7 separate regions of the Homo sapiens genome follow, and all the other regions are linked to region 6. The links are contacts of gene promoters, found by promoter capture Hi-C in blood cells and fetal thymus (Javierre and others, 2016). All regions are on one chromosome and are shown on one strand. The core of a region is centred on a gene start or on the middle of the fragment in contact, and the rest is flanking DNA. Distances in the headings are between cores, read along the strand shown. Region 1 overlaps ANKRD40CL (ANKRD40 C-terminal like). Region 2 has its middle 11 kb from the start of WFIKKN2. Region 3 has its middle 14 kb from the start of WFIKKN2. Region 4 has its middle 17 kb from the start of MIR8059. Region 5 overlaps LUC7L3 (LUC7 like 3 pre-mRNA splicing factor). Region 6 holds the start of SPAG9 (sperm associated antigen 9). Region 7 holds the start of ANKRD40 (ankyrin repeat domain 40).

Evidence for each region. The method cuts DNA at HindIII sites, captures the fragments that hold promoters and counts their contacts. A CHiCAGO score of 5 or more calls a contact.
Region 1: a fragment that was not itself captured here is called in contact with the fragment with the promoter of SPAG9 in region 6 in 2 of 17 cell types (fetal thymus and monocytes); the score reaches 5.8 in fetal thymus.
Region 2: a contact is called between a fragment that was not itself captured here and the fragment with the promoter of SPAG9 in region 6, in 7 of 17 cell types (naive B cells, naive CD4 T cells, total B cells and 4 more). The highest score is 5.6, in naive B cells.
Region 3: a contact is called between a fragment that was not itself captured here and the fragment with the promoter of SPAG9 in region 6, in 1 of 17 cell types (total B cells). The highest score is 6.5, in total B cells.
Region 4: a fragment that was not itself captured here is called in contact with the fragment with the promoter of SPAG9 in region 6 in 4 of 17 cell types (naive CD4 T cells, fetal thymus, total CD8 T cells and 1 more); the score reaches 6.2 in naive CD4 T cells.
Region 5: a contact is called between a fragment that was not itself captured here and the fragment with the promoter of SPAG9 in region 6, in 9 of 17 cell types (naive CD4 T cells, non-activated CD4 T cells, erythroblasts and 6 more). The highest score is 8.0, in naive CD4 T cells.
Region 7: a contact is called between the fragment with the promoter of ANKRD40 here and the fragment with the promoter of SPAG9 in region 6, in 3 of 17 cell types (naive CD4 T cells, naive B cells and fetal thymus). The highest score is 5.5, in naive CD4 T cells.

Annotation. Positions count from the first base shown.
Region 1 is chr17:50,761,396-50,764,979 of GRCh38, reverse strand. It overlaps ANKRD40CL (ANKRD40 C-terminal like), which reads left to right. Exons shown (of 4, transcript NM_001358683.3): 3 at 1,423-1,583; 4 at 3,474-3,584. Among named protein-coding and RNA genes, the nearest start is that of ANKRD40CL, 4.3 kb to the left of the region's middle. The HindIII fragment of the contact is 1,184 bases long and covers 1,184-2,367 here.
Region 2 is chr17:50,844,639-50,848,295 of GRCh38, reverse strand. It overlaps the pseudogene RPL5P33. Among named protein-coding and RNA genes, the nearest start is that of WFIKKN2, 11 kb to the right of the region's middle. RefSeq lists an enhancer at 3,351-3,657. The HindIII fragment of the contact is 1,512 bases long and covers 1,120-2,631 here.
Region 3 is chr17:50,819,771-50,823,299 of GRCh38, reverse strand. No RefSeq gene overlaps it. Among named protein-coding and RNA genes, the nearest start is that of WFIKKN2, 14 kb to the left of the region's middle. The HindIII fragment of the contact is 4,047 bases long and covers 201-3,529 here.
Region 4 is chr17:50,783,883-50,787,791 of GRCh38, reverse strand. No RefSeq gene overlaps it. Among named protein-coding and RNA genes, the nearest start is that of MIR8059, 17 kb to the right of the region's middle. The HindIII fragment of the contact is 3,784 bases long and covers 1-3,562 here.
Region 5 is chr17:50,722,510-50,726,198 of GRCh38, reverse strand. All of the region lies in intron 1 of LUC7L3 (LUC7 like 3 pre-mRNA splicing factor), which reads right to left. Among named protein-coding and RNA genes, the nearest start is that of LUC7L3, 4.8 kb to the right of the region's middle. RefSeq lists an enhancer at 764-1,263. The HindIII fragment of the contact is 2,482 bases long and covers 290-2,771 here.
Region 6 is chr17:51,119,113-51,122,643 of GRCh38, reverse strand. SPAG9 (sperm associated antigen 9) reads left to right here and starts at 1,776. Exons shown (of 30, transcript NM_001130528.3): 1 at 1,776-2,290. The coding sequence starts at 1,988. RefSeq lists enhancers at 425-684, 1,294-1,523, 1,040-1,854, 2,144-2,263 and silencers at 1,664-2,043, 2,294-2,373, 2,394-2,523. The HindIII fragment of the contact is 3,961 bases long and covers 1-3,507 here.
Region 7 is chr17:50,705,682-50,709,623 of GRCh38, reverse strand. It overlaps ANKRD40 (ankyrin repeat domain 40), which reads left to right and starts at 1,710. Exons shown (of 5, transcript NM_052855.4): 1 at 1,710-2,103. The coding sequence starts at 1,970. RefSeq lists silencers at 1,765-1,974, 2,105-2,374. The HindIII fragment of the contact is 9,335 bases long and covers 1-3,942 here.

The sequences.
Region 1 (3,584 bases), core at 526-3,025, 360 kb after region 6:
GATCTAGTGAAGCCTATTCATCCTTCAGATGTCAGCTCAAATAATCAACCTTCATGGAGGCCTCCCTTGACCCCTAACATGCTTTCAAAGTACTGTGTATTTCACATTCATCATGCCCCGACAACTGTGATTTCCCATTTATTAATATCTGTCTCTTCTGCTGGCCTGCAAACTCCAGGAGCACAGAGACATCTTTGGGATTTTTGAACATGATTTCCCCAGGGCTTAGCCCAGTGCCTGGTGCAAAGCAGGCTTTCAACATGTTCAGTGGATATTGTAAGAAAGAAAGAAATACACAAAAGGCCTGGCATATGCAAAGCACTCTAAATATTCACTCCTTTCCCTTCCCTCTGGGTGAGAAAATTTCTCCTTATAAAGACACCCTCCTAACTGTATCTCTGCTAGAGAACTGAAGACATAAAGCACTCTGTGCCAAAAATATTTAAGTAAAAACTTGAGCTAAGCACAGAGATTATAAATATTTCTTCCCCAGATTACGCACCATTTAAAAATACTGTCTCAGCTCCTTTTCATGATTTGGGTGGTGATTAAAGAAAATTACTCTTCAAGACTGAAAGTCATTACTGCCCTTTTCCTGACTTGCCTTTTCCCTTGAGAAGGGGAGGATAAGCTGCAGGGCAGGAAGTGGAAGTGGGGCATCCTTGTCCTTTGTCTGGCAGACAGCCAACTGGTCAGGTACTGCTCCTTCTCAACTCTTTCCTGATTCCCAGGTGAATATAAACAAGAAGGCACAAATCCACACTTGCCAACAACGGACCCAAGTGATAACAAGAAACCCAGTGACACCTGTCTAGGTGAAGACTCAGCCCCTATGTGACCAGGTTGCAAAGCCAAACTGACCATCTGCTTTCCATTTGGACTTTTAGTTCATACTGTATCTTCTCAGGACAGTTAAGTTGGAATACAATGCCACTGTCCTGAAAGATGGTAGAATTATCCTATTTCTGGAGGAGTGGGGGTGGTGGGTAGGAATCTCAAGAGCGATTTGCTCCTCTGCACAATAGCTTCTTTAAGGACACCAGGGCCCCCAGGGCTATACATTTCCCTGAAGCTTTCCAGATAAGCAACAAGGTATGAGCACCTGCTATGTATTGCCCAAGGGTGATGTGTTTAAATATCCATTGCATATTTTAAATCCTTGGCTGGCTTAAAGCTGCAAGCTTTCTGTCTTCAGTGGATATAATGGGGGCATACATCCCAGAGCTTGCCCAACACTCCAAGAAAAGAACCCTCAGCTAATGCAAAGTGTGTATGTGCCCATGAAAGCTCCATGTCTACTTAACATTCAGTTTTTAGGATTATTTATGCTGTAATAATAGATATGAAAATCTCTGACAGGTATTTTGTTTCCTTTACAAACTGTATTTGAATTTATGGGTGATTTAGAGCTTGTGTTTAAAGTCAGAATTCAGAACCCCAAAGAAAATGACTTCATTGAAATTGAACTGAAGAGACAAGAACTGAGTTACCAAAACCTACTAAACGTGAGTTGCTGTGAACTGGGGATTAAACCAGAACGAGTGGAGAAGATCAGAAAGCTACCAAACACACTGCTCAGAAAGGTAAGGGTTAAGAGTTTCTAAATGCAGAATCACAGTGGGTGACATCATGTTCTCTGGAGCCAATCGTTTACACTTCTGCATTTCATGACACCAGAAATCCTGGCTGCAAAACGGCCAAACATGGTAGCTAGGTCATTTTCAATCTGGCGCTTTTAAGATTTGCACATCTAATCCATAAACCTTTTAAAAACCTCTAAATGGTCCGATCACGGTGGCTCACACCAGTACAATCCCAGCACTTTGGGAGGCCGAGGTGGGCAGATCACAAGGTCAAGAGATCGAGACTATCCTGGCCAACACGGTGAAAACCCGTCTCTACTAAAAATACAAAAATTAGCTGGGCATGGCAGCGCGTGCCTGTAATCCCAGCTACTCAGGAGGCTGAGGCAGGAGAATTGCTTGAACCCAGGAGGAGGAGGTTGCAGTGAGCTGAGATAGCACCACTGCACTCCAGCCTGGCGACAGAGCTAGACCCTGTCTCAAAAAAAAACAAACCTCTGAATGACAAGTGACTCCCCAATTTAAGGCTTTAGTTCAGTGCTTTTGGCCCCACCAATCTCTGCAAAATTGACTGGTTAACATAAAATGGCATAGTCCTCAGGAAAAAAAAAAACACAAACCCATCCTTGTTTGCTTAGCAAAGGGTGGGTTTGCTAAGTATTTGAAATATTAGCAAACAAAAATTGTTTTGCATTTTTATATATTTCCCAGATTTAAAATACAGATCTTAATTTTTAATTTTGGAAAGGAAATCTTATTTCTTTGGAAATTTTTCTTTAAAGCTTTCAAAATTCCTTTGGCAATTTTTTTGTTTTTTGTTTTTTTGAGACAGGGTCTCTGTCACCCACAATAGAATGCAATGGCGTGATCATAGCTCACTGCAGCCTCGAAATCCTCAGCTCAAGTGATCCTCCCATCTTAGCCTCCAGAGTAGTTGGGACTACAGGGACACACCACCACACTCCATTAATTTCTTTTTTTTGAAATGGGTCTGGCTATATTGCCCAGGCTGTTCTCAACCCCCTGGCCTCATCCTCCTAAGTGCTGGGATAACAGGTGGTGAGCTGCTGTTCCTTTGGCAATCCTTACTGGTGTCTTGGCTTATAGTGTATATTCTTTGTAAACTAACATGTCAAGGGATGATCATGCTTTCCAGATACCTTAACAACAAAAATCTGCTGGGTGTGGTGTCTCATGCTTGTAATCCCAGCACTTTGGGAGGCCGAGGTGGGCGGATTGCTTGAGCTCAGGAATTTGAGACCAGCCTGGGCAACATGGTGAAACCCTGTCTCTACAGGAAAATACAAAAATTAGCTGGGTGTAGTAGACTTGGGAGGCTGCAGTGGAAGTGGAAGGATTGCTTGAGCCTAGGAGGTTGAAGCTGCAGTGAGCTGTGACTGTGCCACTGCACTCCAGGTTAGGTGACAGAGCGAGACCCTGTCTCAAAAAAAAAAATACAGAACTATCTTATGGGGACCGGGCGCAGTGGCTCACACCTGTAATCCCAGCATTTTGGGAGGCCCAGGTGGGCAGATCACCTGAAGTCAGGAGTTCAAGACCAGCCTGGCCAACATGGTGAAAACTGTCTCTATAAAAAATACAAAAATTAGCCGGGCATGATGGCGCATGTCTGAATCCCAGCTACTCAGGAGGCTGAGGTTGCAGTGAGCCAAGTGAGGCAGGAGAATCACTTGAACCTGGGAGGCGGAGGTTGCAGTGAGCCAAGATCGCATCATTGCCCTCCAGCCTGGGCGACAAAAGCAAGACTCTGTCTCAAAAAAAACAATACCTTATGGGTTCAGAACCCAAGATGCTGAACAATATTAATATTAAGGTTTTCTATTACATTCAAATTTATTAAGCATAATATAATTTCTTTTCTACATTAAGGACAAAGACATTCGAAGACTGCGGGACTTTCAGGAAGTGGAACTCATTTTAATGAAAAATGGAAGCTCCAGATTGACAGAATATGTGCCATCTCTGACAGAAAGGCCCTGC
Region 2 (3,657 bases), core at 626-3,125, 270 kb after region 6:
TTGTCCATGCCGAACCTATTGAGAAGCCTGCAGGTCAGCACAGGCTGGTACAACAGGCTGCAGCGTCATCTGTCAGGCCAACCTTCACATTGCATTTTGGCAGTTCATGTGCATAAGCTGTACAGACTATCATATCCCCTTCTATGTGAGCATAAGTAATCTGACAAATGATATCTCTATTAGTTACATGACTTTTCCTGTATTTGGGCATGTTATACTTGTTTTTATCCTATATCACCAAGGGTTTCCAAAGATAGTAATCAGTTTTACCCTCTTGTCATTTTCTAAATTTCACGTGTATCTCTTAAAGTAGGCCTAGTTCTTGACGTCTTTAACCACCCCCATCCTGCAGAACAGAGCCCCCTGGGCCCTCTTTTTAAACATTTATGCAGCACACTTATAGCAGCAATGACCACTAACAAAATAATTATTAGACTTTTAGTCAGCACTTCCATGCAAGAAACAAGATGACAGCTGCAGCATAGGTGTCTCTGAAAAGCTGCTGAATAACTGGCCTGGTGGCAGGCTGATTCCTGGGAGGCGGCAGCTGTCATGGGCACTGTGCTGTGCCATGGGAGGACTTAGCCTCTCATTCCCACTGTCTCCTTCCCATCAGCAGCACCCCTACCATATTCAGCTAAAAGTTTGGAGAACTCATCTTCACCTGCGTGTCATGACTGCTGGTGCTGCGTGTGTGTGCGCACTTATTTGTGTCCCTTTTTGGGAACTCTGGGGTATTGAGGGAGGCCATCAAGAACTTTATTTGCATGAAGATATATAAACCTGGCCAAGCACAGTGGCTTACACCTCTAATCCCAGCACTTTGGGAGGCCGAGGCAGGTGGATCACTTAGGTCAGGAGGTCGAGACCAGCCTGGTCAAAATGGCGAAACCCTATCTCTACTAAAAATATGAAGATTAGCCGGGTGTGATGGTGGGCGCCTGTAATCCCAGCTACTTGGGAGGCTGAGACAGGAGAATCACTTGAAGCCAGGAGGTAGAGGTTGCAGTGAGCCGAGATTGCACCATTGCACTCCAGCCTGGGTAAGAGAGTGAAACTCCATCTCCAAAAAAAAAAAAAAAAAAAAAAAAGAGAGAAAAGAAAAAAGATGTATAAGCTTTTCAGGAGAAAAGATGAGGGCATACTGAGGCTGAGATCAGGGTCATGAGACAATGGGAGTAAAGAGAAATTTGTGTCAATCCTTTGTAACAGGGGTGTGCAATAGAATTTCCTGTAATGTTGGAAATATTCTGTCTGTGTTGTCCAGTATGGCAGCTACCAGCCACATGAAACATGGCACTTGATCCATAACTAGCGTAACTGAGGAAATGAATTTTACGTTTTTATTTAATTTAAATTCATTTACATGAATTCAGTACTAACAGTATTGAAGGGTATGGCTTTATAAAATTTCTGTAAACCCTTGGTACTCCCAGAGGTCAAGGACCAGTTGGAAGTGGTGGTTATGGGTGTTTAGAAGGGGAACCGCCATTTGGGGTCCTCAGCCTTTAACTGCGATGGTTAAAATACATATGTAATATCGTGATAAGGGTACAGGTACCAAATTCGGACAGACTTGGCTTTGAATCTTGGCTCTTTCATTTAATGACCCTATAGCCTTGGGTCCTTTAAACATTTAGAGTCTCCGATTCAGCATCTGTAAAATAGCACCTATGAGGGCCTCTTTTCCTCCATAAAGCCTATAGGGCTTGCCCCATTCATTCATTCATTCGACAAACACTTAATGAACATGGTCAGGCTTGTGTTTGGTGTATAGGTCTTTGCCCTCCTGAAGGTTGCAGCTTAGAGTGTGATCTGCCAAGTGGTGAAATAGTAAAATAATATGGTGCCTTCAGAGGGTTGGGAGGATTCAACCGGGCAGTCCACGTAAAGTGCCTGGCGCAGGGGTTAGCATTCTCATGTCCACCCCACTCCTGGCACTGTGCTTCTCCCCTGCCCAGGGTCCTTGAGAAAACCCTAGGCCCCTCCTCGCTTCCAGGCTACCCACCCAGAAAGGAGATAAAGTCACCGTCGTCTGCTCTCACTTAGACTATGGACAGAATTGGATGCATCCCTCACATCAAAACAGAAAACAAGTTATCTGGATGGGTCCACCTCCTCCCGTCGGGTCTCTGGCAGTGTCCTCAAGGCCTGAAAAGGGCCGAAAGCACGCAAGTGCCCCCTTTGCCCCTGACAGACACCTGGGAAGAGGCCCCACCTCCAGGAGAGGCTAGTCTATGTTGGGCTGGGTTCTGCTTTCCCTCATCCGAGTGGGGTTGAGGGTGGCCAGAGTATTGCTGGAGACCTAGTGGAGTACCGTGTCCCGGGGTAATTTGGGACGGGACCGCAGGGACTCCAACGTGACCCTGAAATGGGTCGAGGGCCTCAGGAGCCTGGGAGGCAGGCAGGAGAGGGGTGAGGGGCTTGCCCACCTGCCCACCCTGCCCTCTCCCTCAGGAGATGTCAGCTGGAGGTTTACTCTTCCTTCCTCCTGACACAGCCTGAGTGAGGAGTGTCACCTGACCTCAGGGCACATTCCAGAATGAGGCCACAGCCAAGAATAGGGCCCAGGAACCCTGCCACCCATCCCGCCTGCATTAATCACAAATTCTCCAGAGTAGGAGGGAAGCTTCAGACTCTTCAGAGAGGTGGGAGGAAGAGGAGGAGGAGGAGGCAACATGAGGTGGAGCTGGGAAAAAGAGGGAGGACCCCAGAGAGGCCCCTTCTAGGCTTGTGGTTGTTCAGTGCAGCAGCGCTGAGTGGCCCCTGGTCCCAGGACCCTCTGTTTCACCCAGCAAGCACCCCCATGAGCTCTGAGAGCTGGGCCCACAGCTTCCTGGAGGCCCTAGGCAATGATTCTGATCTGGATCAGCACAAACACAGAGGGAGAGGGACTCAGAGAGGAGTGCTCACACAGCCGGGGGACAGCAGAGGCTTCCCCAAGGAGCTGAGTCTTGAAGGATGAGTAGGCAGAAGGCTGATGAATCTAGGCCAGGACTGCTTGTGTGTGTGATAGAAATACTTGTCACAGGGTGAGGTTGTAAACAGCCCTGAGTGGTATGTGTGTGCTGATGGGAGGCAGTCTCTTTAGAGATATTTGGGGTCCTGATAGGACTCCACACTGCCCAGCCCAGAGCAGGGTGTGTGTGTGTTTGTGTGTGTGTGTTGCACACTAGGAGAAACAACATAACATGAGCATTAAGAGCTCTGGGCTGGGCGCGGTGGCTCATGCCTGTAATCCCAGCACTTTGAGATGCCGAGGCAGGCGGATCACCGGAGGTCAGGAGTTCGAAACCAGCCTGACCAACATGGCAAAACTCTGTCTTTACTAAAAATACAAAAATTAGCCAGGCATGGTGGCACACGCCTGTAATCCCAGCTACTCAGGGAGGCTGAGGCACGAGAATCGCTTGAACCCGGGAGGCGAAGGTTGCAGTGAGCTGACATCATGCCACTGCACTCCAGCCTGGGTGACAGAGTGAGACTCCATCTCAAAAACAAAACAAAACAAAAACTCTGAAGTCAGACTGGCAGGATTCAAGTCTTGGCTCTGCCACTCATCCGATTTGGGGCAAGTTTCTTATCCCGTCTAGCCTTAGTTTTCCTACCTACAAAATAGCCTTCTGTCTCCTCCAGTTGCAGTGGAGCTTACAAGAG
Region 3 (3,529 bases), core at 975-3,474, 300 kb after region 6:
CTATGGGAAGATCTTCCAAATGCAGCCTGAGGCTCTCATCTCTGGTTCAACTGTGCCAAATGAGGCATCCTGGTGGATTAAAGATGGCCACAAATTCTTTGCCGCTCCCTCAGTAGAGAGATGGGCTTTCCTTCAACCTGGCTGGTCCTATTGACTTTGGCCAACAGAATGTAACAGAAGTATAACTTCCAAGTCAAGCTTTAAAGATCATGACTTCCACATTTGCCCCTCTTTGAAGGTTTCCTTTAGAAGCCAGCACTGTGTAAGAAGTCCAGCTACCCTAAGACCACCATGTCATGAGGAAGTCCCAGCTAGCCACGTAGACAGAAATACTTAGTGGATCCATGAAGGGGCACCAAGATACCAGACAAGTGAATGCATTTTCTTGGACCTTCCAGCCTAGCCCAGCTACCAGCTATGTAGTTAAATGAATGATTCCTATAAGGTAGTTGAATGAATGATCCCTAATATTTTTGCCATTAAAAGTAATGGCAAAAACCACAATTACTTTTGCACCAACCTAACATCACATAGAGCAGAAGAACAGCCCAGCTGAACTCTGCCCAAACTTCGGATCCATAGGATCATGAGCAAATAAAATGTTTTATACACTAACTTTTGGGATAGTTTGTTACAGAGCAATATACAGGCTGGATGCAGTGGCTCACGCCTGCAATCCCAACACTTTGAGAGGTCAAGGCAGGAGGATCACTTGAGCCCAGAGTTTGAGACCAGCCTGGGCAACATAGCGAAACCCTTGTCTCTACAAAAAAAAATAATAAATAAAAATAAAAATAAAATTCTTTTAAATTTATTTAAAAACAAAAAATAAAATGTAGAGCAATATACAAATGGAATAGACATGAGGGAACTGTGGTGGAAACCAGTTTCAGCTGCTCAGCTTCACTGCTCATGACGAATCAGGAGGCAGAGACAAGAATCCTGCCAGAATTCTCTTTAGGATATAAGATAGAACATCTGGGGCTCTTCTCAAAGCCTGTGCCCTTAGCAATGCTCATGACAGGGGTCTTGAGTGTGGGCTTAGAGGAAAGCACCATCAGTAGCCTCTAAGCAAACAGACCATGATTATGATCCAGACCATAATGTTGGCTGGAGTAGACTTCAAATATGTGGCCAGCTCAGATTCTAGGGGAACAGCATTAGAGGGTAAAAGCCCTATTTCCCATTAAAAGCAAGGTCAGGTAAGGGCTTCTAGAAGAAGTGACATCAATACTGAGACCTGAAGGATAAATCATAGTTAGCTGGACAAAGAGGGGACAGTATATGCAAAGGCTGTGAGATGGGAGGTGGCACAGAGCATTGGAGGAACTGGAAGACAGCCAGGGTGGCTGGAGAGGAGGGAGTCCACACAAGTCCAAGTGGGACTCAGAGGGTAGAATCTCTCACCCATGCCTACACCACCACCAGGAAGGAGGCTTTGATTTTTGCCTTCTATTTCAGAAAGGCTTGCTTTGCACTTTGAACTCTGTTTTGGGTTGATCTTGGGAGTGGCGATTTGAGGGAAACAACAAAACAGTATGTAGCTAAGTGAAGAGGTAGACCACAGAAAATATATATTAGTCACTGCTCTAGCTTGCAGCAAGCAGACTGAAAGTCTCACAGGAGGCTGGGCGTGGTGGCTCACGCCTGTAATCCCAGCATTTTGGGAGGCCAAGGTGGGCGGATCATGAGGTCAGGAGTTTGAGACCAGCCTGGCAATATGGTGAAACCCTGTCTCTACTAATATACAAAAATTAGCCAGGTGTGGTGGCGAGCACCTGTAGTCCCAGCTACTCAGGAGGCTGAGGCAGGAGAATCGCTTGAACTTGGGAGGCAGGAGTTGCAGTGAGCCGAGATCGCGCCACTGCACTCCAGCCTGGGCGACAGAGTGAGACTCCGTCTCAAAAAAAAAAAAAAAAAAAGTCTCACGGGAAAGGTTCCTTTGTCCCCCTCAGATGGTGTGCGATGGGGGTATGGCTCGCTTCTTCAGTGCCCTGCTGCTCAAACTTCTAGGGGAACATACAGATGGGCAGGCTGTGGGGCTCTGACCCCACGGCAGTGTCAAGGGGTGAATGTTTACAGCTGAAGCTCCAGTGAGCGTGTGTTACAGGGTGCTCTTTCAGTTTTGCCATCTGTAGGCAGCTTGGGTTAGTCAGCTCAATTAGACCCACTACTTTGTCACTAGGACAGAGGGTTTTCTGTATCCCAGGGTTTCTTGCCTTGGTGTACCAGAAGAATCAGATCACACGTGGGCTTGGAGAATGAGTGCAAGGTTTTATTGAGTGGAAGTAGCTCTCAGCAGATGGGGGAGCCAGAAGGGAGATGGTTTTCCTCTGGAGTTGGGCCGCTTGGTGTCCCAGGCTCTCCTCCAACTGCCCCAGCCAAACTCTGCGTCCTTCTGCTGGTCAGTGGCCTGCTGGCATGCCGATGCCGGTGCCAGTGCGTTCCTCTTGACATCCAGCCGCCTGTGTGTCCCACCGCCAATATACTCCTCTAGATGTCCAGCCGCTTCTGTCTCTGCCCTGCTAGGGTCTCGGGTTTTTATAGGCACAGGATGGGGGTGTGGCAGGACAGGGTGGTCTTGGGAAATGCAACATTTGGGTGCAAAAGCAGGAGTGCCTGTCCTAACCTAGGTCCACGAGGGTGGAGCCCTCGCCAGGGAGCACAACCTTCCTCTACCCAACATTTCCCTTGCGCTGTTCCGTATCATTTAAAGGGACCACGCTCTTCCCTTCCCAGCGTTTCCATATCAAAAGCAGAAGAACCCATGACTGTCCGCATTTGGGCCAAGTGAGCATGAAATAGTTGAGGGATAGAAAGCTACTGCACATTTCATGGTGGAATGATTGGGGGCACTGCTGGGTACAGAGGATGGGCAGAAAATGGGCCAGGCTCATTCATCGGGAGCCACCAGGAGGACTTTCTGCCAGTGAGGAGCCGGGGGGAAGGCGCTTCTCTCCCTAAGTCCAGCAGTCAGACACCATGGTAGATGGCAGGAGAGGTGCTTCCCAAAGTTTGGAGAGGCTCTGTTCCTAACTCTGAGTCAGCAGAAGGAAAACAGGAGGGAATTGGAGGATAAAGAGGGGGCCCATGCAAGGGAGCCAGCCCCTTTGTGCCTGCAGGGCACAGGGCAGGTACAACCTGCCCACTGTGGCCTCAGGTACATGAGGATCAGAAAGGCAAAGACCCCACCACTGAGGGTAGAAGGTGTTAGGGTGCTGGAGTGAGGGCTCAATGCCCGAGTATCCCCTTCCCTCTGGGGTTTCTCAGGGAGGGAGTCATCTTGGTGCCTGAGCCCTGCCCCCAATGCAGAGACCCTTAGTATAGTAGACCCTGATGAACCCTGGGGCTTAGGCTTAGGCCAGGCTTCAACCTTCCAGCTTCCTTCCCCAAGGGTCCTGCCACAGGTGGAGAAGATGGGCCAGAAAGAAAGGGTGGCCAGCCCCTACACTCCCCCAGCTAACTCATCACTGGGACAGTGCCTCCAGGTCTGGCTGCCACGAGGGAGACGTGAAAGAAAGAGAGGACG
Region 4 (3,909 bases), core at 421-2,920, 330 kb after region 6:
AGCCTCCCGAGTAGATGGGAGAATCACTTGAACCCAACAGGCAGAGATTGCAGTGAGCCGAGGTCGCACCACTGCACTCCAGCCTGGACGACAGAGAGAGACTCTGTCTCGAAAAAAAAAAAAAAGAAAAAAAAACAAAACAAAACTTTAAAAGGGCAGGGCCTTCGTCTACTTTATGTGCAGCTGCCTCACAGTGTCTAGAACAGGGCCTGCACACTGCAGGTGCTCCACAAATGTTTGCTGAATGAAAATGGGATGGTGGCTGGTGGAGAGAGTTACTGATGGTGGCAGGTCGCTGTGCAGGAGGAGGCCTGGGATTTGGAGCTCAGATCAAGGGGCTGTAATCATGTGTGCAAGGGCCCCAGTGCTTTACTCCCTGTGTCTTTACCGTGTGCATCTACCATCCTGGTGCCCTCCCACTCAGACTCTGGGCTCAGCCACGTGCTTGCTGTGGCCAGCAGGATGTTAGCAGACCGGAGGCAGGCAGAAGAGGGCTTAGCATCTCCATCTGTTCTTGCCCTGAGCTCCACTATGAGAACATGCCCGGGCAGGCCTGCTGAAGGATGAGAGACCCATGGATATGTGAGGAAAGAACATTCCGGGCCAAGGGAACGGGCAGTGCAAAGGCCCTCCTTCCAGATAGGGGCTTGCCTGGTGTACTTGAGAAGGAGCACAGGGCCAGTGGGGCTACAGCCAAGTGAGAGAGGGGACCACGTTGCAGGAGCTCCTGGGATCCAGACTGTGGAGGGCTTTGTAGACCATTGCAAGACTTAGGCACTTACTCTAAGCAAAATGAGAAGCAGAGGCCTGGCAAGCTCTGACTTCCATGCTAAAAGGATCACTTTATTGCTGAGAAAGAAGAGATATGGGGGCGGTGCAGAAGCAGGGAGACCAGTGGGAATGGGAGGGGATATTGCAATAATCAGACTAGGGTGGCCGCAGCGGAGGTGGGGAGAAGAGGTTGGATCTGACTATGCTGTGAGGTCGGATCTCAGAGGATGGGGTGGGGGTCAGTGAGAGGAGGTGAGGGGTTCTGAGCTGAAGAACACCAAGGCTCAGCCTGGCCCTGCCTGATGGCCCCACCCAGAAATCCCCAGCTCCCTCTGCTCCCGCTGCATTGGCCCTTGTTTTCATCCCCCGAACACATTCCCCTCTCTCCTGCCTCAGAGGTCTCGGTACTTGCCACTGCCTCTTTCCCCTCGCTCTTGGCCTGGCTAAATCCATCATTTGGGTCACAGCTTAAATGTTCTTCCAGAGGCCTTCCCGGGACCCCCACCCACCCCACCCCTATGAATTGTCTTCTCTGCCATCCTCCCTCCTCCTACCCTGTTCTTTCCCTTTCCAGTGCTCCTTTTAATCACGTACGTAATCCTGTGGTTATTGGTTTAACGTCTGCTCCATTAGATCACCAGGGAGCAGGGCCCGACAGGCTGTGTGGGGTCAAGTCCCTGTTATTCCCATCTAGACCTGTGTGAACTGGGGAAAGCTAGTAAACCACTGGGCCTCAGTCTCTTCCTTGGAAAAATGGCAGTAAGGCCCAAGGCAATCCTCCAGGTAGAGCGCTGAGCTCAGTGCCTGGCCCACTGTTCAGTACATGTTAGCTACTATGGGGGCCATGGAAAGGAGGCCAATGTATTTATCTGGAAGCGCTCAGGCTGTTCAGATGACTTCACTGTATTTGGCAAGCTCTCCGAGTGGCATAAACAAACAGCACTCTGAGTAGACTGCTCAAATGAGGCAGGTTTGAAACTGCCTCTTGGCAAATGCACATTCAGGGAAATTAGAGAGATGTGTGCATTTGCTGATTTTAGTTGCTTGTCATCCAAATACCAATCGAGAGGGGAGGATACAAATCTCAAGATGGGCTGGAGGCAGTGTTCCCCCTATGGAAGCCTAAGGGGGCCAAAGATCCAATTCCTGCAGGGGGTGCTTGGGAACTCAGCCTTGGTTCATCCTGCCTAGGACTTTGACACTGACTGAGGGTTATTGAGAAGCTGGGACCATTGAGGTGTCACTCCTCTAATGTTGGGGTCCCAGCTGCCACCATCAAAGGGCAGTGATGGTTGTGAGGTTGGCATGATTGTCCTCATAAGACCCTCCCTGTGATTCTGCCTCCCAGCCTTCTGGGTTCCTGCCCAATTTGTCAGGCTGGTTCCAGTTTACCCTGTGACTCTATGAACCATCCATCATCATTCCAGAAAATTATTTTTGGGCTATAGTTAACCAGGGTTGTTTTCTATTGTTTACAACCAGGATCGTCTCCCCTCCCAGAAGGGGCTGAGTACCAACCCTCAGAAAACCTCATCCACCACCTTGGCTCTGCCCTACTCATTACTGGGAGCATAAACTTCCCTAGGGTGCTATGGGGCGGGCATGTGTCAGTCTGTACTAGGAGTACCCTGAAAACAGGGCAAAAGATGTGCCAAGCTAGATTAGGAAATGTTAACCAGGCTTCTTTCTCTAGCATGTCATACCGCCCCGCCCCAATGCAGGTGGCAGCAAGGATGTCCTTGGGGCAGGAATGTTTCAGAAGAAATGAAGAGAAGCCAGTGGAGCTAGGTCTTGGATACTAGCTTCAAAGTTGAGGTCCTTGCCTCAGTAAAAACACTGATCACACGATGGCTCTCTCCTCCCCACTCCAGCCCTGTTGTCTGGGCTGCAGTAGGGGCACTGCAGAGCTCAGGGAGTAGAGGGGCGCAGTGGTGAAGGCACTTCCTGGTGAAGGCACTGAGGTACCATCTCCCAGAACACCCTCATGTCTCTACACGTAAGGAGACATGCTGCTGTGGCTTGTCTGGGCAGAGAGGGCCTGAGACAAACCCCTCCCCACAGTTTCCCATTGAAGTGGCTGAGAGAGGGTTCTGGGACCACATGAAGCTCAGGATCAGGATGGTATAACAAGGAGGCCAGGTGGGCCGCGGGCCCTCATGGTGAATGCTGATGGGATGGACACGGGCAGTAATGAATCCAGTGAGAACGGAAATCAGCAAATGATGCCCGATAGGGCCAGAGACCATCTTTACAGATACCAGCAGAGAAAACGAGAACGACCAAGATCAGAGCCCTCTCCCTGCTGACACCATTAGCTGGGACCCCAGGGCAAAGGGGGAGGCAAAAACTTAGAATTGACTGAAGAGGCCAGGCGTGGTAGCTCACACCTGTAGTCCCAGCACTTTGGGAGGCCAAGGCGGGTGGATCACAAGGTCAAGAGTTGGAATCGAGCCTGGCCAACATGGTGAAACCATGTCTCTACTAAGAATACAAAAATTAGCCAGGTATGGTGACACATGCCTGTAATCCCAGCTACTCGGGAGGCTGAGGCAGGAGAATCACTTGATCCCAGGAGGCAGAGGTTGCAGTGAGCAGAGATCGCACCACTGCATTCCAGCCTGGGTGACAGAGCAAGACTCCGTCGCAGAAAAAAAAGAATTGACTGAGGAAACCCTGAATTCTGTAATAAAAATGTTTCCACATCGTGCAACATGGGAAATGGAGGTGGAAATCCAAGTCAATTATAGAAAATAGAAACATTCACACTTCTGACTTTGTAACCCATGAAGCTTGTGCCCCTACAAGGAGATCTCACCCCCATGTAACCTGGGTGCCAACCCATTACCTAAGAAAACAGACAGGCCTGGAGAGCTTTAGGGAGAGTTGTGGAGGGACGGACTTTGAACTCTTGTAAAGTGACTTGCTTTTATTAGGCACCTACTGTATACCAGGCACATTGCTGAACACTATATATTATTTATTTTTCTTTTTTCTTTTCTTTTCTTTTTCTTTTTCTTTTTGGACAGTCTCACTCTGTTGCCCAGGCTGGAGTGCAGTGGTGCCATCTCAGCTCACTGCAACCTCCATCTCCCAGGTTCAGGTGATTCTCGTGCCTCAGGCTCCCGAACTATATATTAT
Region 5 (3,689 bases), core at 281-2,780, 400 kb after region 6:
CTGTCTCAAAAACAACAACAACAAAAAGCAAAACAACAAGTTTATACGGTATTGCAATAAACAATGATGAAAATACACAAGAACCAAGGGATAATTTTTTACTGTGATATGCAATTTACTTTAGACACCAACTGCTCATGCAGAGATTATCAAGAGTCACAGGTCATAGGGCATTTTAAGTGGAGCCTGGCAACACTTGAGCTCACTGTAATAGCAACAGGTGGCTACAAAATTATTACAGTATTACAGTATGTACTATAGTTAATTTTATGCAGTTATTACTCAAGCTTTACTTTCTCTGGACTGCTAGTGGCACCATGTACTGTGTGCATAAGTTTTTATAAAGTTTAACTTTTTATGATTCGTATGTATTTTGTGGTAGGAAAATGATAAACTAGTATATACATCTATTTTATGTATTTGTGATGTACTTATCTTTTCTTAAATTTTAAAAATATTTCTAAGCTATGTGATTCGTCTTCAAGTTTTTTCAAATTGTTGCAAATCTCCAAAAAATGTTCCAATATATTTATTGAAAAAACTCCACGTATAAATGGACACACTCAACTCAAACCCGTGTTGTTCAAGGGTCAATTTTACTTTTCCCAATGGTAGGATTTATCATATTCTGTTATGGAAATGCGTTTACATTCAATTGGAATAATCCCCATTGGAAAAAAAAAGTGCATTTACTGTCACCAATACATGATGGCTCTTTAGGACCAAGTGCTGTATCTGTACTATCCTGCTGTTATCTACCTAAGAGCAATACTTTTAATTTTTTTTTTGAAATGGAGTCTTGCTCCTGTCACGCAGGCTGGAATGCAGTGGCGTGATCTCGGCTCACTGCAACCTCCACCTCCCGGGTTCAAGCGATTCTCCTTCCTCAGCCTCCCGAGTAGCTGGGATTACAGGCGTGCGCCACCACACCTGGCTAATTTTTGTATTTTTAGTAGAGACAGGGTTTCGCCATGTTGGCCAGGCTGGTCTCAAACTCCTGAGCTCAGGTGATCCACCCGCCTCAGCCTCGCAAAGTGCTAGGATTACAGGCGTGAGCCACCGCTCCCAGCCGAGCAATACATTTTTGTTGGATAAATGAATACAACAATTTTCCTAACTTACTATAAGAAATGAAGAGAAAGGCTGGGCATGGTGGCTCACCCCTGTAATCCCAGCACTTTGGGAGGCCGAGGGAGGATCACTTGTTGTCAAAAGTTCAAGACCAGCCCGGCAAACATGGTGAAACCCCATCTCTACAACAACACAAAAATTAGTCAGGCATGGTGGCATGCACCTGTAATTCCACCTACTCTGGAGGCTGAGGCAGGAGAATCGCTTGAACCCGGGAGGTGGAGGTTGCAGTGAGCTGAGATCACACCACTGCACTCCAACCTGGGCAACAGAGCAAGACTCCATCTCGGGGGTAAAAAAAAAAAAAAAAAGAGAAAATATTTCATAAAACGAAGAACTGTATTAGCAAAAAAGTCAAATTTACAAACTTAAGCTACCTTCTCCTTTTGTGAGGAAATCAAGGCTAATAACATATATAATGACACACACACACACACACACACACACACACACACAATTTTCCTAAAGCAACCAAAGATTTACGAAATACCTTACTATAATTTTCAGTGATTATGGTATTGTGGTTATTTTATTCTATTTTTTTTTTGAGACAGAGTGTCACTCTGTTGCCCAGGCTGGACTGTGGTGGCACCATCTCGGCTCACTGCAACCTCTGCCTCCTGGGTTGAAAGGATCCTCCTGCCTCAACCTCCAGAGTAGCTGGGATTACAGGAATGCACCACTACGCCCAGCTAATTTTTTTATTTTTTATTAGAGACAGGGTTTCACCATGTTGGCCAGGCTGGTCTCGAACTCCTGGCCTCAAGTGATCTGCCTGCCTTGGCCTCCCAATGTTGAGATTACAGGTGACCCACCATGCCCGGTCGGCTATGTTTTTTTTTTAAAGTCCTTGTATTTTACAGATATACAATGACCGCTTTAAGGTTGACAATAACAGAATTGCTTCAAAATAATGGAAGGGATACAGAGGAAATAATATTGACTATGTGCTAATATTGCTAAATTGGGCATGGGTACATGGGGAGTTCAATTTATTATACTATTCACTCTAATTCTGTATGTTTTGGGAAGAAAAGCAAATAGCAATTACATACACATATAACACATGGACTGCTGGCAATTCTGAGAAGCCAACACTTACTATTTTACTATGGAGTAAGGTAGGAAATGCCAGCCGGGCGCAGTGGCTCACGCCTGTAACCTCAGCACTTTGGGAGACTGAGGCGGACCGATCACTTGAGGTCAGGAGTTCAAGACCAGCCTGGCCAATATGGCAAAACCCTGTCGACTAAAAATACAAAAATTAGCCGGGCGTGGTGGCCCACACCTGCAATCCCAATTACTCGGGACGCTGAGGCCAGGAGGTGGAGGTTGCAGTGAGCCAAGATCATGCCACTACACTCCAGCCTGGGTGACAGAGCTAGACTCTGTCTCAAAAAAAAAAAGGGGGGGGGGCAGGGAGCAGGGTAGAAAATGCTTTTCTATCTTACTCCATAGTAACATAGTAAGTTACTATGAACATTTTGGTGACTCTGAATGAAAACTAGTAAAATACATATTAATAGATGCCATCATGCATTATAATTACTAGTTTTTTGCTTTCAATTTTTGCTCCCAAATTCTGAACATTTTTAAAGCAAAAAGAAAAAGTATACAAGTAAAAAATGTGGACAGAAGCTTTAGCTATTTTTCCTTTTCTAAACAACTTTTCAGTGTCAATGACAGTATCTGCTAACATTCCAAAGATTTTAGAAAAGAACATAGTTCAATTTCCTTCATAAATTATTAAACCTTCATGTTAAACCTTCATGGAAGGAAGGGTAGGCTTGAGTTTGATAAATGGAAGAAAACTCATTTCAGATATTAGAATCAGTGTTAATGATTAAGTAATTTCATTTTCAGGTTGAGATCTAGAATATAAAAACCTCAATTTGAACTACAAAATTTCTGTCTTGCTACATAAAAAATAACAAAACTCCCGATCAGACTTTACAATTTACTACAATCTTCTAATAATATGGCTACTAGTGCCTTCTCTGGCTAACACTGAAATCAAACCCTCACTGAAAGGTACTCACCCTAGGCAGTTAGTTACAATCACATGCTTTCCTCATCACTGTGGTTGTTTAGGATTAACCAAGCAATTGCTTAGTGCAAAAAACCAAAACAATAATCTCAAACAATTGCAAAATACAAATAAACACGGTGGGAGGGTGTACCAATGAATCCATGAAACAGTATTAAAGCCGACTTCACTTTAGCTGCAGTTTCTCAGATCCAGAGGTAGCAATCTACAAAGTTGGAAATGCCTGTAAAAGCACTAGCCCCAGTAAAATACCTTGGTGAAGGTTACATACACACCATTACAAATAAATGGTCGATGATTTTGCATCACAGATGCATCCTTCACTTGAAACTGCGCTTCGCAAGTGCTGCTTGCTCACTTATTACCCATCATGAAAAGGAGAAAAAAGTACAGTATTAGAATCTACTACCAAATTAATACCAATTAAGATTTAATTGTGCAGATATGCACAATTAAAAGCCCAGGACTAATCAGGATGGGTCAGGAAACAGTAGGTCACAAACTTTAGAAT
Region 6 (3,531 bases), core at 527-3,026:
GAAAGAAAAAGTAAAGCCTTGCCCTATGTTTTTTGGCTCTTCTGATCCCCCAGGAAAAGAGAGGCATGCATATAGGTAGACCAGGTGAGTGACAGCCCTCAGGAAGAGAAAATAAAAGAGGAGAGATTCAGATCAAGACTTTTTCTAGTTTTCAAATATGAAAGGTTAAGAAGAGAAAGGGCATTTGCGGCTCACAGCCAACCAGCTGGTCGGCATTCCTACTACCCAAATATCTAAATGACATAAGGGTGAATGTGGGGTGAGGGTGAGAACGGGAAAAAACACAGGCCGCAAATTCAGTCCCATCTGGCACTTCATAAGACTTAGTATTTTCATCTTTGTCCTTCCAAATTTATAGGTTTACTCTTGCCCAACCTTCATATTGTTTTTATGGGTCTCCAGGTGGGTCATGCGTAGGAAACTTTAGGGGACTACTTCATACTTGGTGGGAAGTACTTAAACTTGTAAACCCCAAGCTAAGGGTAGTTATGATCCCGGTGGGTGGCCAATTCTCCCCTTAAACCTATGTTTATCCTGCCTTTCCTCCCCCTTTTCTTAAACGAGTCGGGACGGAGAGCTGAGTCACCTGAGACACAGAGAAGGGACTTTTGAGAGTGTCTTCCGTCCCATTTGCGGACGTTAGATGAGCACACCGGGATCCTTGACTCAGCCCGCTCTAGGCGTGGGCGTTGTGTCATTCCCCACACGTGACACTCTCCCAGGCGGCAGAAACCTCACTTGTCATGGGACTTATTCACTCCAGTGACTCCACCCCTTACCTCCTCTGTTCCCCAACCTCCCACTTACCCTTTCCGCCCCACTTCAAGACTTGAGGAGAGGAGGGTGGCTGGAGCCTGGAAATGTCCCCGTCCCAAGTTGGCCAGAAGTAGCAGACACACTATGTGGGAAAGTGCCACATGTAACGTTCCAGTTTCACCCTTCTCCAGAATGCTATCACCCTTCCTGTTTATTTTTTAATAACTTGAGATATAATTCACACGCCATATGATTCACTCACTTAACGTGTAAAGTTGAATGTCTTTTAGCATATTTAGAGTTGTGTATTCATCACTATAATACATTTTTTAGAACATTTTTATTATCCCAAAACGAAATCCCATACCTATTAGCAGTCACTCCCATTTCCCCTCATCTCACCCTTGCTCTTCCATAGCACAAAACAGTTCTATTCTATTCGAGACCACCTTTCCACTTGGGCAGACCCTGGTTATGGTTTTTTTTCCCTCCCTTTCTGTTTCCAGTTTTTTTCGGAGCCCGGAATTCTCAATCTGGGTAATTGGTTTGAGTCCCGGCTCAGCCCGTTTCCCGTTGTAGCTGCGTGACCTTGAGAGCAACGCCACTTTCCTGGGCCTAGTTTCTTTGTCTGTGAAACGAGGTCCAAATATCTACCTCTTTACGCCTGTTGTGGGGATGAAGTGAGTAGGTGCTTTGTGAGCTTTAAAAAGCCATAGAAATGCCAGCTAAGTTAACTCGTCACTCTTCCCGAACCCCTCCCTTTCCCCTGGGACCCGCCCCGCGAATCCCGCTGTGGATGGATACTTCTCCCCACCCGCCGACCGCAGTCTTTCCCATTGGCGCCCGCACCGTCTTCGCGGCGCCGGGTGTTGACGCCATGGCTTCCTCCGCCAGCGCCCGAAGACGCTTGGCCCCGCCCCCGGCCGCGCCTGGCCTCCCGCGGCGCCCCGCCCATCGGGCCGACGCGGCGCCGGCCCCGCCCCGCGGATGACGTGTGGCGCGCGCGGCCGGGCCGCCCCGGCAGTTGGTGCAGCGGCGGTTGGGGTGAGAGCGCCTACGCCACCCCTCCCCTCCTCCGGCCCCGGCCCCCACCCCGCCGGGCCCAGCCCCAGCCCCGGCCCGGGCTCCAGCCCTAGTACCCGTCCCAGCCCGAGTCGGGTCCGTCCCGTGCGGGCAGGTGCCGCCCCTCTGCCGGCGACGCCCCGGGCCGCCCGCCCGTCCGCTTGCCACCATGGAGCTGGAGGACGGTGTGGTGTATCAGGAGGAGCCCGGCGGCTCCGGGGCCGTGATGTCGGAGCGGGTGTCCGGCCTGGCCGGCTCCATCTACCGCGAGTTCGAGCGGCTTATCGGGCGCTATGACGAGGAGGTGGTCAAAGAGCTGATGCCGCTGGTGGTGGCTGTGCTGGAGAACCTGGACTCGGTGTTCGCGCAGGACCAGGAGCACCAGGTGGAGCTGGAGCTGCTGCGGGACGACAACGAGCAGCTCATCACCCAGTACGAGCGGGAGAAGGCGCTGCGCAAGCACGCTGAGGAGGTGAGGCCGGCGGCAGGGCGGGGGCCGCGGGATCCGTCTCCGGGGGCGGCCGGGGCGGGGTCGCGGCCCGGTCGGGGACTAGAGGCGCGACGGGCCTCCTGGAGGGCGGGCCTGAGGCCGATGCCCCCTGGGACCGATCCCGGCGGCCTCCAGGTACCCCGGGAGCCAGGCCGGCGTTGGAAGCCGAGGCCGGCTACTGAGTGTCCTGGGAAGGGAGCGAGATGGAGGAGGCAGGGCCCGGGGAGGAAGCGGCAGCCTGGCCTGAGGACACCTGGGGTTGGCCAAGGGCGGAGATTGTTGGGTGTCTGGTTGCTTCTTGTTGAGGGAAGTTTCCGACCACCGTGGGATAGTCAGATGGCGGTTCAAAGTTTTACCCTTGGGGAGGGGGACACTTCTGCCCTGGATATGTAACTTCCGCTAGTTCCAGTACCTTTCCAGGGGGTTGCCTTGCTTTGGGAAGTTAGAGATCTCCCTCTTTCGGTCAGTTTCTTCTTGACGTTTTAATCTTGTTGAGAAAGACGTCTTATTTTATGTTCTATGTGCCTTGGTTGACACTTTGTCAACTTTTAGATGTTGTGTGGCAGTACTCAATAAATATATAAACAATTTCGTTGGTATCCCAAACCAAAGCATTCCTCCGTATCAGGTTGTAACCTTGGACAGTTCCCTTCAAAAACCCTCCGTTTATTTATAAAAAGGATTGGGGGGCGGGGTTGGGAAGATGTAGGTGACAGTTGGCAACACTTTTTCCGTCTGAGTTTCCTTCTTAGACTGCTGTTTATACGTGCATTTGGCCACCTGTTAACTCTAGCACCCGAGCAGTGACCTGGGCGCCCTCACCTCGACTCTGTGAACCTTTTGGAGTTCTAGGGTGCAAGTGATAGGTCCTTGGCTTCTTGAGACTGACAAGGAGTTTAGCTTTCAGCCTGCGTTGGCGTTATTTCTGTGGACCTTATCAAAGGCAGGTGATGTGTCCTATTTTTGTTTCTCAAGCACCTAGCACACCTGCTTAAATACATGGTGATCAAAGGAGGCGAAATAACTAATTATTGAAGGAATGACATAGTATTTTTCAAAAAGACTTGAAGAGTTTTTAGGATGTGAGGTTTGTAGCTCATTTCCTGACACTGAATAGTAACACCATTAAATTTTTGTTTTATTTTGTCACGTATACCTTTGCATCTGGTTAAATAGTTCTTTTTCCTTTTTTAAAAGCTTGACTGTAGTGATGATTTTTAGTT
Region 7 (3,942 bases), core at 461-2,960, 410 kb after region 6:
CTCCTCCATCTCAAAAAAAAAAAAAAAAAAAAAAGAACTCATAGACTTTGGGGTGCAGTCACGAACAATTTTTTTTAACTGCATTAAAAACAAAAAACAACAACAACAAAAAAACAAAAACAGGCCAGGCGCGGTGGCTCATGCTTGTAATTCCAGCACTTTGGGAGGCTGAGGCTGGCAGATCACATGAGGTCAGGAGCTGGAGACCAGACTGGCCAACATGGTGAAACCCCATGTCTACTAAAAATACAAAAATTAGCCGAGCATGGTGGCACAGGCCTGTAATCCCAGCTGCTCGGGAGGCTGAGGCAGGAGAATTGCCTGAACCTGGACTTAGAGGTTGCAAGGAGCTCAGAGATCGCCCCACCGAACACCAGCCTGGGCAACAGAGTGAGACTCTGTCTCAAAAACAAGCAAACAAAAACAACAAGCCACTACCTACTCCCATGTCACTGAAATTGTGTTGAAGGACTCAAATCCAGTGCCATACACATCAGTTTCAGATAGAGTATCATGCTGGATGTGAGAATTAAAATTTAAATTGGGGGAACAAATGAAAATGTAAGCTCAAGCAGGGTTACAATTTGCCATGGGGGTCAATTTAAGTGTGTAGTCAGTTTATATTCAGCACCACCTGGTGTGCACTGTGTACTGTGTGAATTACTGTATCATACTAAACAAACAGACATTGGTTTTTCTTAAACTGTAGCAAGAAAAATGCTTGCTGTGCAGATCCCAGCAGCCCCAAGAGACGGAAATGAAAACTCCATGCCTAAATTTATCCCTTCCTATTTCATCTCTCCTTGTTCAGGCCTTCCTCCCTTCCTCCCCAGGGCTATTTCCTTAATCTTGACCCCATCTGTAAAGTTCCATCCTGTGCCACATCGGAGGATCTCTTCAGGGCACCTGGGCTCAACAAAACAATATTTCCTTTTTCTCCCACTGGGTATAAAACAGTGCCAACTGAGGCTCTGAGCCTCATTAGATAGATCGGGCAAGAAGTGAAGCAAAATGCTGTTTACATGTACACCACAGCTCTTCCCAGAGCACTTGGAATCAGGACCAGGACACCTCCAAAGCCTCTTTGGTGTTTTTCCTTTCTTTTCTCCTTATATGGCCTTCATGAAGAGTAACTAATTACAATCTGTAAGCAGTAATTACAGTTCATAAACTGTGAGCACAATATAAATATTTTTCCTGAAAGCCAGGTTAGAAGAAATCCTGTCTAAAATGAGATGTAAAACAACAACAATTGAAATAAATATTCTAACTGAATTGTCCCCAAGCACTGTCAAAAAGAAGAAGAGTCTAATCTATCTCTGTAATAATGGGCGTATTATAGTAGGATCGTTTTCAGCCCATTTCCCCATCCTGCTGGGCACGAATTGGCTCAGATAAGGAAAAGGAGCCAACCAAACTGGGGGAAAATAACAAAAAAACCCCAAATCCCAATAAAAAGAACCCACCAATTATTTTGGATGCCTGGTAAACAGCCTGCACCAGAGGATAAGGCTTTTCTGGCCCTCAGCTATGCTTTTTTCTCTTTTCATGTGTCTTGTCCTCCTCCCTTGAAACTGCGGGGTGGGGAAGTCTAAAAATAGTCAATGAATCATGGCATATAATATTGTGCAGTAGTTACATAAACAGCCAGCCCGGGCGCCGGAGCCCCGGGTCGGAACGGAAAATATCTGGGTCAGCGTTGTCACACTGAACAGGGTCCCCCGGAGCCGGCCTTCGGGAGGCGCGGCCCGGGAGGAGGCCTGGGCCTGCGGGCCGGGAGCAGCAGGGGCGGCCCGCGGGAGGGAGCGGAAGTCCCGGGGCGGGCGCGGGCAGCGGCGCGAGCAGGGCGGGCGAGTTCCGCGCTCCCTCCCCATGGCCGGGAGCGGGCCGCGGCGACGGCGGCGGCGCTGACAGGCCCCGGGCGGGGCGGGGCAGGCGGGCCTGGGCGGGGGCCTGGGGCTGTGGGAAGATGAACGCCCTCCTAGAGCAGAAGGAGCAGCAGGAGAGGCTGCGGGAGGCCGCGGCCTTAGGGGACATTCGGGAGGTGCAGAAACTGGTGGAGAGCGGGGTGGATGTGAACTCCCAAAATGAGGTCAACGGCTGGTAAGTGGGGAGCGGGGGAGGCCTAGGGTCAGGGCAGCCGGTCGGAAGGCGTGGGGCAGTCAGTCGCGACCTGGGCCCAGCGCGGGACGCCTGGCTACGGCGAGGCCTGCCACCTCGGGCCTCCGAGATTGTGCTCTCTTGAGGCCAGCCCTGGCCCCCATGCCTCGTGCGGTCGGGAGCGCGTCCTGCCCAAATCCCGGCCCACGTGGTCCACTCGGGGCAGCGCCCACTGGGACTCTGGTGCCCTACCCCCTTCCCCCGCGCTCCCGGCTCACTTGGTCAGAGCGGTGCTGGAGGCAGTGATTCTCAGCGACTATGCGTTGGAGCTCACCCCAATTCGAGTGTTGAGTTAATTTGCCGTAGGTGCTTCTGGAGAACGCATCTTGCAGAGCTAAAAGCATAAGCAACTGAGCAAATATGAATTTTATAAACTAGCACGATTTCCTTAGCCAAGACCAGGAAAAAAAAACACATTTGCATCACCATTCTGCTTCTCTGTTGTTTCACTGCAACCGATTTGCTGCTGCTGCCTGTAGTTGCCTGTTTGAGGGAAAACTCATTTGTTTATCCTATCGATTATTTTCTTTCTTTTTTTTTTTTTTTTTTTTTTTTTTTTTGAGACAGGGTCTTGCCCTGTCGCCCAGGGTGGAGTGCAGTGGCATAGTCTCGGCTCACTGCAACTTCTACCTCCCCGGCTCAGGTGATCCTCCTGCCACAGCCTCCCAAATAGCTGGGAATACAGGCACGCGCCCCCACACCCGGCTAATTTTTTTTTTTTTTTTTTTTGGTATTTTTGGTAGAGATGGGGCCAGGTTGGTCTCAAACTCCTGGCCTCAAGTGATCCACCCGCCTCAGCCTCCAAAAGTGCTGGGATTACAGATGTGAGCCTACCGTTCCTGGCCAGTTTTCTTATTACAATTTCAAATACAGAATGTCACCCAAGACTTTAGATGTCTGCCTGCAGATTGAATTCTTCCCAATTAAATAAGGAGTCTCATCTTAAGATGTTGCTGGTGGTCAAAACAGAAAGTTACTGAATGTGGCATTATTCCGCTCTCTGCATTTAAAATTTAAAATTTTGATTCAGGTAATGCTTAGCCAGACTATTTTGCTAGCTTAGAGTTAAAGTGAGTAGCACTTTGGGAGGCTGAGGTGGGCGGATCACGAGGTCAGGAGATCAAGACCATCCTGGCCAACATGATGAAACCCCGTCTCTACTAAAAATACAAAAATTAGCTGGGCGTGGTGGTGCATGCCTGTAGTCTCAGCTACTTGGGAGGCTGAGGCAGGAGAATCACTTGAACCTGGGAGGCGGAGGTTGCAGTAAGCCAAGATTGCACCACTGCACTCCAGCCTGGGCGACAGAGCAAGACTCTACCTCAAAAAAAAAAAAAAGTGAGTTTACATTTTGTTTTTTTAAGTGGAATCATCCATTTTGGAACTGAAAGGGACAATGGAGAGAGGCTCAACCACAGAGAATAACTTGCCCTAGGCCACATAACTATTAATATGATAGCACCAGAACCATGGTTTCCAGACTGCCTCAAAAGTCTACCTACCTGGACCTGGCGCGGTGGCTGACGCCTGTAATCTCAGCACTTTGGGAGGCCAAGGTGGGCAGATCACGATGTCAGGAGTTCGAGACCATTCTGGCCAACATGGTGAAACCCTGTCTCTACTAAAGATACAAAAATTAGCCAGGGGTAGCGGTGTGTGCCTGTCATCCCAGCTACTTGGGATGCTGCAGCAGGAGAATCACTTGAACCAGGGAGTTGGAGGTTGAAATGAGCCAAGATCACACCACTGCACTCCAGGCTGGTGGCAGAGCGAGACTCTGTC